Regions from separate parts of the Homo sapiens genome. Here region 1 is linked to region 2. Evidence: promoter capture Hi-C in 16 types of primary human blood cells and fetal thymus (Javierre and others, 2016). All regions are on one chromosome and are shown on one strand. The core of a region is centred on a gene start or on the middle of the fragment in contact, and the rest is flanking DNA. Distances in the headings are between cores, read along the strand shown.

The links. Contacts are between HindIII fragments. The CHiCAGO score rates a contact against its expected background, and 5 or more counts as called.
Region 1: a contact is called between a fragment that was not itself captured here and the fragment with the promoter of NR2F1-AS1 in region 2, in 1 of 17 cell types (total B cells). The highest score is 7.9, in total B cells.

Annotation. Positions count from the first base shown.
Region 1 is chr5:88,135,886-88,142,858 of GRCh38, reverse strand. No RefSeq gene overlaps it. Among named protein-coding and RNA genes, the nearest start is that of TMEM161B, 130 kb to the left of the region's middle. RefSeq lists a silencer at 1,371-1,420 and an enhancer at 1,283-1,784. The HindIII fragment of the contact is 1,283 bases long and covers 2,207-3,489 here.
Region 2 is chr5:93,577,618-93,584,202 of GRCh38, reverse strand. It overlaps NR2F1-AS1 (NR2F1 regulatory antisense RNA 1), which reads left to right and starts at 2,984. Exons shown (of 8, transcript NR_186187.1): 1 at 2,984-3,061. It overlaps NR2F1 (nuclear receptor subfamily 2 group F member 1), which reads right to left and starts at 981. Exons shown (of 3, transcript NM_005654.6): 1 at 1-981. RefSeq lists a silencer at 2,539-2,588 and an enhancer at 2,709-2,808. The HindIII fragment of the contact is 7,751 bases long and covers 1-5,931 here.

The DNA of each region.
Region 1 (6,973 bases), core at 1,599-4,098, 5.4 Mb after region 2:
TTTCTTAGGTATGATTTTTCAGGGAGCAACCCAGAAAGCTGTCTTCAGGCTGAAACAATTTCAAAGTATTGTTTAAGCGGATGACATTCTCCAGCACTCAGTTATCCATTGTGCATCTATTATATCTTTGAACTCAACTCTCTTGTCTAACAAGGTTGTGTGTGTGTGCCTGTTGTGTATGCGTGTGTGTTTAGAAAACCTAGGTTCCCCAGTGGTGCTTCCTTGGCTGAATAGGGTGGGTTTCTTTCGTTTTTCTCGCATTGGTGTTTTCTGGACAACTGTACTGAGCGCTGTTGATGGCATCGGTGCTCTGCCCGTGCCCGTGGGCGGAGGACATAGGCTGTGGGTGTGTCCCGCCCGCAGGCGCGCGTGCGTGTGTGCGTGTTTGTGTGTGTGTGTGTATACACCCATTCTCTGGTGTGCATCAAATGGAGCCTTTTTTTTTTCTTGCCCGTGTCTGCGTCCTGCGTATATTAGTATTATGCAAATAGAGTCATTTCGCTTGAGTATTTTTTTTGGAGGGGGAGGGGATGAACCATTTTAATTCTTCTCTAGTATTTTCTCGGCAGTCTTTCCACTGAGTGTGAATTCATTTGGATGCCTTTTCTGAGGTCCGTCTCTGTGTGTGTGTGTGTGTGTGTGTGTGTGTGTGTGTGTGTGTGGAGGGGGAGACTGCGTGCCGGTCAGTGGGTGTGTGCCTCGGTGTGTGGAAGAGCGTGCACAGCCTGTGAGAACCTTGTGAGCGATATGTGTTCTCTCCAGGTGTTCTGTTTGTCTCTACCTCCCGTGCTTTGCGTTCTCGGAGGTGATTATGTGCATATTTACATATATGTGCCTATTCTCTTGCCTTCATGTATTGTCTTTCTCCACAATCCAGACATTGCATATATATTCTCTTATCTTTTGGCAAAGTGCCTTTTTTATTCCTCGAAGAATATTTATTGATGTGATAATCTGAAATGAAAAGTGGTCTCCCATGAAGGAGATGGAAGAGAAAGGAGTGTTCATCTTTCTTAATAGATGGGGCAGAGCCAGTTGACTGGATCACAGGGTTTCTCTGCACTTTCTGCGTGTGTGTCTGTGTGTGGGGGGTGGGGGCGGGGGCGGGGGCGGAGGCGGGGGCGGGGGAGGAGGGAAAAGGAGCCTTTAACCAGAACAAAGATAGGCCATCGCGCCCCCTTGCGGACAGGCTGCATATTGCGCCGACCAGGCCCGCCCCGGCTTTCTTTAGTCGAATGAATCTTGTAATTTCCTCCGTTAAACCATTCAGGGGCCGCCTCTCAGACCCAGCCCCCGGCCATCAGCCAATCACCAGGCGCCATGCAAATCATCTCTTCCGTTCTCCAAACCCGCGTCAGCCTCTGCGGCTGCTCTGGCCACCCCGCCCCAGCCTCATTTCCTCCCCTCCCCTCCCCTTCCCTCCTTCGCCCCCGCCCGAGCAGCTGCCGGGGAAGAGGGCAGTGCTGGGTGCCTCATGCATATTCAGACCGATCCTCCTCCTCCCTCCACCTCCTGCCCCCTCCTGCCGCCTCCTCCCTTTTCCCCGGCCGCGCCCGCGCTCCTGGACGCGCAGTTCTCCGAGCTCTGGTCCTGAGCCGCTGTTTCCCAGAAGAAGGCCTACGTGAGCTCTTGGAGCAGACGAGGGAAAGGGAGGAAGGCTCTACCCTTAAAATCCTCTCGAAGGTCAAGTTTGAGGCTTGCCGAAAGGAGGAGAAAAGTGTCGAAAAATGCCGCTACAGGGTTTGCGGGAAGGTTCTGCACGGAGACTGGTTGGAAATGCCTTTCTCCCCCTAAATACCAGATTAATTTCTCTGAAACACACAATGTATTTGTCATGCCCAAAGGATGATGATAGATGGTTTTTTAAGCCCAGAGTAAAGTGTGCATTTGTCTTGTATATCAAGGCTACAATGAAACCACGAAGAACTGGAGAGGAGATCACCCAGCGTTGGCTGCTTAATAGGAGCGGGGAGAGCGAGTGAGGAGTAGAGACGGGGGGCGGGGCGAGTGGTGGCCCAAGACCTGCTCCAGGTGGGCTGTTCCCTGTCGGCTCCTGGAACAGGACGGGTAAGCCGACTAAGAGCGCAAACGGGGACCCATGAAAAGAAAAGAAAAAACAAGATCCGGGAATAGTTTGTTACTGTTATTTACATCCAGACTCTGGTTTTCCGGCCCTTTACAGCTGCTGGTGAAGAGTATTCAAGCTTTGAATACTGCTCTGAACTGACCTTGAGGCACATTGAGAGGAAAAATCACTGGAGAAAATCGCGGTTTGTGTAGTGCTTTGAGATCCTCTAACGCGAAAGCAAGAGAATTGTGAAGTGACCTTGTTTCATAGATCTCTCTACGTCCACATTGGAATACTAAGGGACTTTTTAGTGAGAATTGAGTCAGTTCCCCCTTAAATCTTACACCGCAGAGAAGTGAGTAGAGACCGCAAGATTTAAAATAACATTTTGTCAGCTTTTATTCTTTCAACACATTTTTATGGAGTGGTGCTTATTGTGTGCCAGGTACACAGCATCTTTTTCCATGCGAAACACATTACGCAGGCAGTGATTTGCAGGTGTACCGGAAATTAGGGAAAGGGATAGGAATTCTGGATGCTTTCTGTTCTGGAATTGCTCATTGTCTTGCAAGAAGAAGAGATATAATAACAGATAAATATGGCACAGTGTAACATGGAGCATGGAAACAGCTTAAATATCTGTCAAAAGTGCAGTGAATTAATGTATTGGCATATCCCTACAGTGAAATACTCTTTATGAATTGACTATCTTAAAAGCAATGTTGGATGAAAAAAAGCAAATTGCAAAAGAATACATGTGATATTGGCCGGGCGCGGTGACTCACGCCTGTAATCCCAGCACTTTGGGAGGCCGAGGAGGGTGGATTACGAGGTCAGGAATTCGAGACCAGCCTGGCCAAGATGGTGAAACCCGTCTCTACTAAAAGTACAAAAGTTAGCCAGGGGCGGTGGCAGGCGCCTATAATCCCAGTTACTCGGGAGGCTGAGGCAGGAGAATTGCTTGAACCCTGGAGGCGGAGGTTGCAGTTAGCCGAGATCGCTGCATTCTAGCCGGGGCAACAGAGCAAGACTCCGTCTCAAAAAAAATGTGATATTGATGCAATATTAATATCTATTAACGTAAAATTATCCTTCCCATAACAATTTGTTGGTACGTAACTATGTAATAAAAGTATAAAAGCATGTTGGGGAAGAATGCGTGCGAACTCCAGCATGGGGGAGACCCCTGGAAGAGAAGGAGCCTTTATCCACATGGATATTGGCTATATGAGTAATGTTTATTTCCTTAAAAAAATCTTAGAAAGAAGCCAGAACATAGAGAGGTATGGGAAGGCTTTACAGAAGAGCTAACTTTGAAGCTAAGTTCTTGAAAGTGATAAGCAGGAGTTTAGTAGGAATATTTGAAAGACAATTCTTCTTCTTGAATACATGAGAATGAGAAATATAAACTATGTGAAGCTTTTGAACTTTTGATATTTAGGTTAAATACAGTACAATTCACTTTTTCAGGGATATAAATTCTTTGAGTTTTACCAGTGTGTAATGTAATCACGACCACAAGCAAGAAACAGAATTTCATCATCCCCCAAAACTTCTTTGTGCTGCCCTTTGCAGTCAATCCCTCCCAATATCCTGTAACCCTGGAAACCACTGATCTGTTTTCCATTCCTGTAGTTTTGCCTTTTACAGAATGTCATATAAATAGAATCATACAGTATGTAGCTTTCTTCTGTGTGGCTTCTTTTTACTAGCATAATGGATTTGATCTTCATCTGTGTTGTTGGGTGTATCAACAGTTTGCTCTTTTTGATTGCTGAGTAGTATTTCATTGCATGAACGTACCACAGATGGTTTATCCTTTTAAAAGTTGTTGAAGGCCATTTGAGTTGTTTCTGATGTACAGTTTTTTTTTAATTTTTTTATTTTATTTTTTTGAGATGGAGTCTCGCTCTGTCGCCCAGGCTGGAGTGCACTGGTGCGATCTTGGCTCACTGCAAATTCTGCCTCCTGGGTTCACGCCATTCTCCTGCCTCAGCCTCCTGAGTAGCTGGGACTACAGGTGCCTGCCACTAAGCCCGGCTAATTTTTTGTATTTTTAGTAGAGACGGGGTTTCACCATGTTAGCCAGGATGGTCTCGATCTCCTGACCTTGTGATCTGCCCGCCTCAGCCTCCCAAAGTGCTGGGATTACAGGTGTGAGCCACCACACCCAGCCCTGATGTACAGTTTCTTAATTCCAGGGACTGGGTTCATTGCTGTCATGTATAATGGGGATCTTCTGTGAATGGCTATTATATTACATATAATAAGTGTGTACCATTATTTCCCCTGAGAGGCTAATCTATAATCTGGTGTTAAATACTGTGTAGAGCTAGGTAAGAACCTACCCAGCCAACTATATAGAAAAACACACATGTTCACAGTATTTCAGAAATTGCCCTTCAGCTTACTTACTTGTAGTGAGTTCAATAGAAGATACTCACTAAAGATGCCAGCTGATGACCAGCATGTGTGAACTTACATATATGTAGTGGAGGATTTAAATTTCTTACTGTTTGAGCACCTATGACTTTCCTAGTGTGGAATTATTCTTTGTTTCTAAATATTTCCTAAATTCTCCTTGAAAGATTGACCTTTGCTTTCTGAGGTCTGAGTGGAGGTTTACTTGCAGGCAGTATCCCCATACATTTGATAGAGGATGACAAATTCACATAACCAATTAAGGAGTTCTGAGCACTTGTAAGGAGTCACAGTAATTCCAGATTCTGGACTGTACTGTCAACACTCAAGTGTTTGATTTCCTCTTGTTTGTTTCTCATCAGGACCCTGAAAAGCTGATAGCTAGGGTACATAGATTGGGTGCTGAGTTCAGGCACAGAGTAAGGAAGCCTGTGGGTACATAAGCACTTATTAATGTATCCCTTGAATTCCAAAGTCAAATATCAACTGTTTGTTGATATTTGGAGCCTTATTTATTTATTTATTTAAAAAACCTCTAGTTCCTCATGGCTATTTGAAAGCTCTCTTTCAAAGGCAGCTGTAAGAGTCAATAACGTGCAAGATGGTAAGGAGAAGTGTAAATAAACATTCACAGATTGATGACCTTTTGGGTGTGGTTCAGAGTCAAGAAAGGACAATCCCAACTGTAAAGACTGATGGCAGTATTGGGATGCAAGGGGTGCTATTGTCTAATCCTAGTCTTCTTGCTAGAATAGGCTGTGTTTTGAACTTAAAATTGTATCCAGTTGCTACATGTGAGAGTGCATGTCATCCCTAGTTTTAGTTCTTATAATCAGCATCACCCTCTGGCAAATGATACTGGAAAAAAGTTTTAATTAACAATTCAACTAAACAAATGGTAAAATAAACAATAGGAATTTCCTTTGGATACATTCTTAAGTAAACGTTATAAAGGTTATAAATCAAGGAATGTAAATGCCACATTTTCACTTTGTTAAGTTCTGTGCCACCTTGGAAAAAAGCCTACTTTATTTGTACCACAATTTTATCTCTTATAAAAGGGCAGAGGACTAAACATGTTGCTATTTATGATTTAAGATTCCCCCGGCAAGAAGCACTTTATGAACCCTAGACTTTGCTGTGATAGAACTCTTTCATTAGTCATGCCAAATTGCAATGATTGAGGCATCCACCATTTTCCCAATTAATTATAACACACCCAAGCTTCATGTTTCCTGGTGCACTTTGAAGATTTTGAGAAAGTGGTCATTTCCTCACAATAACCTAATTTACAGCCCCTATTCAAACAAGGTAATTTAGAGCATGCACTCTTAACTTGTTTAGTAAACATGTCCAAGCTAAGAAGTGTTGGCCCTGTGAAGCTCATCAGTCCAGTGACTTAACAGTAGTTCTTCCATTAAAAGAAAATCACTGTCCGGGTGCGGTGGCTCACACCTGTAATCCCAGCACTTTGGGAGGCTGAGGCGGGCAGATCACAAGGTCAGGAGATTGAGACCATCCTGGCTAACATGGTGAAACCCTGTCTCTACTAAAAATACAAAAAAATTAACCAGGTGTGGTGGTGGGCGCCAGTAATCCCAGCTACTTAGGAGGCTGAGGCAGGAGAATGGCCTGAACCCGGGAGGCAGAGCTTGCAGTGAGCTGAAATTGTGCCACTGCACTTCAGCCTGGGCAACAGAGTGAGACTCCGTCTCAAAAAAAAAACAAACAAACAACAAGCAAACAAAAAAAAAGAAGATCACCTTTGCGCTTTGTGCTACAAATAAATTGGTGCTGACTTAGTACCAAGACTGTGATTTCTAATGAAAATTAAACTATTGATGGTAAAACAAAATAACAGAAAAAAAAAAAGAAGAGACACCTTTCAAATGACCACCAAATTCATAATCATGGATTAAGCCAGTGAAGATTTTCTCTTGCAGGCACTGTCTTTTAAAATGAGATTCTGTTCAAGAGTGTTACAGTAGCATAATATAAATCGGTGGCTATGGCTTTTAAACTCTGGTTCTTTCTCCTGTAAAGCAGCATAAGTGAGTGCCTTATCATAACGTCGGAATAATGACATCTCAAGGCCTGCATGTTGCATTCACAAGCAAGGAGAGTCCCAGAACGAGGTTGACTCAGCAGTACCTGACCAGGCTGCTTAATGCACTGATGAATACCATTGCCCCTAGGAATTAAATATAGAGGTGCCTGGAGCTTGTGTAAAGTTCTCTGTGCCATTTGAAAAAGGTACTCGGAGAAAAGATGGGCTGATTTTTAATTTTAATGTTTTACTCATCGGTTTAAGTACATTTATGGTTTGCTTTGCAAAATGTCAACAGACATCCCAAGTGGTTAACATTTTTAAAAGACTGAATATTCTGTATTTACTCTAATATCATTTTTAAAATGTGGTCATCAATGCCTACAGGTTCATCTGTTAAGACAATCCATTCAAATGATTATTAAAAAATAAATTCA
Region 2 (6,585 bases), core at 1,735-4,234:
CGGAGCGCGAGCGGAGGCCGGGGCCGCCCGCGGCGCCGCCGCTGTCCCGGCGGGAGCCCTCGCCGGGCTCGGGAGTGCGGGGAGCGCGGTGAGCCGAGCAGGGCGCTGGGCGAGGCTGCCGCCGGCGATCAGGGCGCGCGGGTGTCGGGGGGCCAGGTCCAGGGCCGGACGCAGCCAGCCATTCAGGAAGGCAGCGCTGGAGAGCGGGAGGCAGCCGGCGAGGAAGATCACACACTTTGCTCTTTTTGTTGTGCCGGTGGCGCCGGGCTCTCGCTGCCTTCTTCTTTCGGGAGGTGACGGAAGGGGGAGAAAAATACGGGATAATTCACGCCGGCGACGAAATCACAGCGAAATAGAAAAAATAAAAATCAGAAGAAAATAATTGCCAAAAAAAGGAAAAAGGAAAAGCGAGAGAGACATCCAAAGTAGGTCGAATAAATAATCCTCTTCTTTTCCTCTTTCTTGCTCCTTCTTCTGCTTCTTCTGCTATAACACACAGAGCTAGTTAAAAAAACCCTGGAGATCGCCCAAAAATGTTCTTTTTTTAGTATTTTAAATAAGTGCTCTTCAGCCGGCAACCAACACCCTCCCTCCAAAAAAAATCATATATGTATAAAATAACGATAAGAAGAATACGAAGGGGGTGCCTCCTCCTCCTCCTCCTCCTTTTTTTTTTCTTTAAGTTTAGCCCTCTCTCTTCTGCAGGAATGGAGTAAAAGAGACAAGGAGGAGGGAGAAAAAGGAGAGAAAGGAGAAGAAGAAGGGGAAAACAACTAGTAGAATATGTAAGAAAAGAGAAAGAGAAGAGAGGTTCAGAGAAGAGAGGAGAGAGAGAGGAGAGGAGGGAGAGAGGGGGGAGAAAGAGGAGAGAGAGAGAGGAGAGAGAGAGAGAGAGAGAAGAGAAGAAGAGAGAGAGAGAGAGAGAGAGAGACCCAAAAATTGAATGCGTTTAAACGGGAGGACTCGCAGAGCAATGTTTCCGAAAGGGGGATCTGCGCGAATGTCTGTATATAGTGAACTTTGACACTACTATTGAAACTGACACGTTTCTATGGAGATCGCTGCCTTATATGGAGCTCGTGTCAAGGAGCCAAGAGAAGGGCTGCTGGCAACTGATAATCAAAGGCGACTGACTGGTCAGAGCCCTGAATCGGGGGGAGAGAAAATGGGAGGCTAAGGTTAGCCAAGCCTCCTGCACGCCATTGGTTGGAGAGCCCCTCCCCCCTCCTCTTTTGCTTTCTTTCTCCCCCCCCCGCTTAGCTACCTACAGACTGGGATGGTGTGGGGAGGAGGAGAGAAAGTGAGGGAGGGGGGTGTGTTTCTGACAAGCGCAATTTACATTGAGATCGCCCTGCGCTGCTATTTACTCTGAGACCTGATTAGTATGGGTCGTCTATGGTCACACACACACACACATACACACACACACACTTACGCTCACACCCCAGAGGGGGAAGGGATGACGAGGGGGAGAACGCCTAGCGATGGGCAAAAGGAGAATTAGAGGGAAATTATTTTGATTTCTTCTGAAAAGTTTTTAAAATTAGATTTTATGAGCGTGAAGAGAGTGTCATTGAAAATGTTTGGAAAAATTTTTAATGGGAATGAAACCCCCACCATTTTAATGATTTGTGAAATATACTGGATTTGGATTGTTTTCTTCTCTCACATATAAGCACAATCCAAGTCTGGATTCTGCTCATTTTATATCCTTTTTAGAAACAAGTAGAAACAGGGTAGGATCTCCCTATTTTTTAATCCAAAGTATACCTTGGTTTAAAAGGTTTAATGATGACAAAGCACACTCCTGGAATTTGCAGCTATTGCCACAAATTCGATCGGAATCAAGGGTTCCTATTTATCCCAAAGATGATTTTAAAAATAAACTTTCCAATCAATCCAATTTTTCCTTCTTCTTTTTTTTTTTTTTTATCACCTGGCTGTTCCAAACTCCAACAATGCTTCAATCATTATTAATAAAACAGTAGTAAGTCCCCATATTGTTGCAGGGTGGGGGGAGATTAGTGTGGCCAAGTCAGTCCCGGGAAAAGAGCAAACAAACGAGAAGATGGAGAGGGGGGGAGGCGGAGAGGGAGAGAGAAAAGGGGGAGGAGGAGAGAGAGAGACAGAGAGAGAGGAGAGGAAAGGAAAGAGAGGAGAGAGGAGAGCGCGCGAGATATTGAGAGAGAGAGAGAGAGAAGAGAGGAGAGGGGAGAGAGAGAGAGAGGAGAGAGAGAGAGACCCAGAGAGAGAGGAGAGAGAGAGAGACCCAGAGAGAGAGAGAGAGAGAGAGACCCAGAGAGAGAGAGAGAGACCGAGAGAGAGAGGAGAGAGGAGAGAGAGAGAGAGGAGAGAGAGAGAGAGAGGAGAGAGAGAGAGAGAGAGACGAGAGGGAGAGGGAGAGGGAGAGGGAGAGGGAGAGGGAGAGGGAGAGGGAGAGAGGAGAGGGAGAGGGAGAGGGAGAGGGGGAGAGAGAGAGAGAGAGAGAGAGAGAGAGAGAGAGAGAGAGAGAGAGAGAGAGAGAGAGAGAGAGACCGAGACCCCGATTCCTGAATCCTGAAGGTGATTGGTCGCGGGAGGAGGGGCAGGCGGGAGGAGCGGGTCCCGCGGCGGGGCTTGCAGGAATCGCTGGCTCCGGCTGCCACCTAGCGGACGGGAGCCGCTCCCGGGCGGCACACAGCCGAGTCCCTCCTCCCCTCCCCGCAGGCAGCCTGTGCCTTTTCTCCAAACGAAGACAGCACTTTGAAAATTCTTTCAATGGATTTTTTTTTCCTTGAAAGATCGTACTGGGGGAAAATGATACTTCTATTAGTTACATATTCTCCAATCGCATACTCGCACCCCCCTCGTTTTGAGATCGCTCCCCTAGGCAGGCTCAGGCGGGCGCGGAGCCGCGCGGAGTGACAAAGCCGCCGCTGCCGCCGCCGGGGGTGGGAGCCGCGCTCGCCCGCCCGCCCCTCGACTCGCGAGGGCGTAAAAGTTTGTCTCAGCTCGAGCATTCCTAGCGCCAACACGCCCTCAGGTAAAGGTGGAAGTAAATGGCCACGCTGTATTGACAGAGGTAGGGTTTGTTTTTTAATACTCGTTCTCACTTTAAGTCTCACCAGGGAGGGGTTTGGGAAGCACTGCGTGTTTGGGGGACGTTTTGCGCTTCCTGGTCTCTCCAGCCTACAAGTCGGGAGTCGGCGACCGCTTAGTGACGAGCGATGATTTTAAAGAGCAGAATAAAAGGTTTTCCCGTGCCTGCCCCACAGCCCCTCCAGCTCGAATAATGGAGAACTGTCAATGCACTCCGCGAGCGGTGGCCCATTGTACGCAGCTGATGGCGAGGAGGCGACTGGGGGTAGCAGGGGCTCCTTGCCCTCGTCCCTATGCCCAAATAAACGCGCAAACGCGCTCCCGTCTTCTGGTCAGTTAAAAGGTGAAACGAACACGATTAAAATAGACCAAAAGAAAAGAAAGAAAAGAAAACCTTTCTATGTACAGATTCTAAATCGTACTCCCCATACAGTCAGAGGCAGGGAGTCGAGGGCAGAGGCAGCAGGCGGAGAGAGGGAGATAGGGCGAGGGAAGGAGAACGCGGAGAGAGACGAAGGGAGTGGGAGACCAGCGACAGCGAGCGCCAGGGCACCGCAGGCACACTGGATGCCCAGTCCGCCGGCCCAGCCGCCCTCGGACCCTGGACCGTGCGTCGTGGGCACCAGAAACGAGACTCGGCCAAATCCTGCCTCACCAGGCAAGTAACATAATGGTTGTCGTTTCTCTTGAACTTGGGGTTGGTAACGGGCAGGGCCGGGAGGCAGTCTTGGCTCGCACGGCCTCCGCAGGCCGAGAGCAGAGTCTAGGCAGCCAGGGCGGGACGAGGAGAACTTTCTTCGGGGCCTGCTCGGGAGTTGCCCTCGCTCGGCCTCTGTCTCGCCGTAGCGCTAAGGCGAGGATCGCGGCCGCCGCGCCTCCTTGGAGGGGAGGATCGTGCCAGGCGAGCAGCAATCCACATTCAAAACAGGCTGCTCCCACCCCCACCCGCTATTCCCTCTCTCTCCTAGGCGGGAAACGGATGCCCGGGCGGAGGACGGGGACCCGCACGTTTAACACCGGCCCGGCTGTTCCTGCTGGTGCCGAGCGCGACCCGCGGTGGAGCCGGCTGCAGAGTCCGGCCCGGCTGGCCCTTGTGCCCGCGCCTTGCCTGGTTACGGCCTGAACCTGGCGAGCTTGGCTGCAGCCGCCCACCTGCGGACGCCGTTTGTAACGCCATCCCCTAATGTAACGCGATCGATGGCTGCCTGTCTGATGTGGGCGATAGTGTCAGCGGATTAAAAGGGACATCGAGCCGCTCTCCCGAGCAGACAACCTGCGGCGGCGGCGAGAGAGCACCGGGATTCGCAGCCTAGCAGCCGAGCCAGACTCCCTGCGCCGCTGCCAGCCGGCTGGGGGCGGGGAGGGGGTCGCCTCCCAGGGGTGGGGACAGAGGGGGTGTGTTGAAAGGAAGAGGCTCAATTAAAACCAACAAGAGCGCTTTCCTCCGTGCGGGGCAGGGGCGTGCGTTTGCGTCAGAGGGCGCGCGGGGGGCGGGGGCAGCCGATGCTGGGGACTGCACCCGGGGGCTGGGGGGTCTCGGAAGCGAGGAGGCCTTGCCTAGCTGGGCTGGCCCGGGGTCAGGCCCTGTAGGTGAGGGCCAAGGCGAGACGGGATGACAGCTGAGCCTGCCCGGGAGCAGAGGCGCCCACCCATCCTTACTGTGGGCTCTCCGTGCCCCCACAGAGCTTTCAAACTTGAAAGAGGCCCCTGGGACCCGGCGTGACCCTAGCGGTGGGGAGAAGTTGGGCCCGCGAGGCCTCAGGCGAAGCCGCGGGCTCCTCCGGAAGGAAGGAGGAGGGTGAAGTCCCCTGTCCTAGTCCCAGGGGTGGGAGTGGGAAGCTGTTGGTGGTGATGCCCGGAGCAGCGGAAGCCCGCGGCTTTTCGGAGGAGGGGAGCGGCTCGCACTCCTACGGGGCATCCTTGCCAACTTTCTGTCACAAGAGGGGGCGGGGAGAAACCAAGGCTTTTCGAGGAGGGCGCTGTCCCCCTCTGGAACTCGTCCGGCCTGAGTGGCACTTAGAGCTCAGTTTCTCTTCGGAAGCCTGTGCTCCCCGACCGCGGTTGCACACCCACAGGGCGCCCCACTTGTGCTCATAGCCCTGCCTCCAGCAAAAATGTCTTCCCTAGAGGCACTGAGAGGTCAGCTTAGTTCCTGGGAAGCCCTTTCTTTCTTTCTTCAAGGCTCTCTTTTGATACTGGTCCCAATTGGCACACTTGTCCTGGGCCTAATGCGACCCACACTCAACCAGGAAATAATGATATCTGTTGTTGTGGGGTAGGGTACCTAATAGAAAACTGATCATAGTTTTCGAGAGTACTTAGATCCCCCAATTGGGAAATCCTACATACTTGTCCAGGCACGCTCAGCTGCAGGAGCAGAAAACGCAGTTGTAGTGTCCACGTTTCTTTCACCCACCCCCTCTTCTTCAGATCTCTCTCCCTCCCTTCTAGGCCAGGCCTTTCACCTCGGAACCTTAAGCTGAGTCTGGACGTGGTTCTTGGACTCGGACCGCTGTGGCTCTTGCCTCAGCATCCTACCCGAGGCCTCCAGCCAGGCCCACAGGGGCTCAGCCCTCTCCAGGGTCTCTCTTTCGGTTTGGCGGGTCTGGGAACTGTAAGGGCCTTGCCGGGGCCTGGGCTCCCGGGAGCCTCCCTTCCTTCCTCTGCCTTCCTGGTTCCCACAGACCTGTTCAGTGCACACTAGATCTTTAGTGTAGTTCCCCAAAAAGGCGATGAGAAGGTACCGCTCCGCTTGGGGAAAGGAATTAGGCTGTAAGCCTATAGTACCCCTTGCGGGCTGCTAGCATCAAGCTCAGCGTTAATCACGTTTTAAAAGACATACCAGACAAAGCTTGATCTCTCCCAGCTTGCCACCCAGTAAATTGTGATCTGGTGAGAGAGGAAGAGAAGCACAGATCGGTTTGGCTGCACATTCAGGGTTGACTTGCGTTCCAGGCCCCAGAATCCGGATCTAAGCGGACTGTCTGTCTGTTAACATATCCTCTCCCTCCATATCTTTCTTACCACGAGGCTGAACCATTTTTCACTAATTCTATGGGCTTTTTTTGATATTGATATCTTGGTCTCCCGAAAGTCATTCATTTTAGCTTTTTGGTAAGTCACACTGAACAAAAGTGGCCTTGTAAAAACATTTTCTAAATCTAGTTCAAGAGCCATGGGACCCTACAAATGATCAGATATGTGTAGGAAATTCTCTTTTATACCTCTTCCCTACCTCAAAATCGTTAAAAATGGTATTATTCTGTTTAGCAAGACCACAGAACAGAACTAACCCCGTTTTATCGAGCCCATCTGGAGAGATGAACATGCCTGCAATCATTGAGAAAAAGGTCAGTGCCTCTGATCTTGCTGCAGACCTTTCCCAAAGAGCTTATTTGAAAGGTGCTGAATCAATTAGTCTCCCCTGGCATGAGATTAAAGCCAGGAAGGACATAGTTGAAGATGTATTTAAAATGGTCTCACACAGATCTTTTGGAAGAAAGGGTG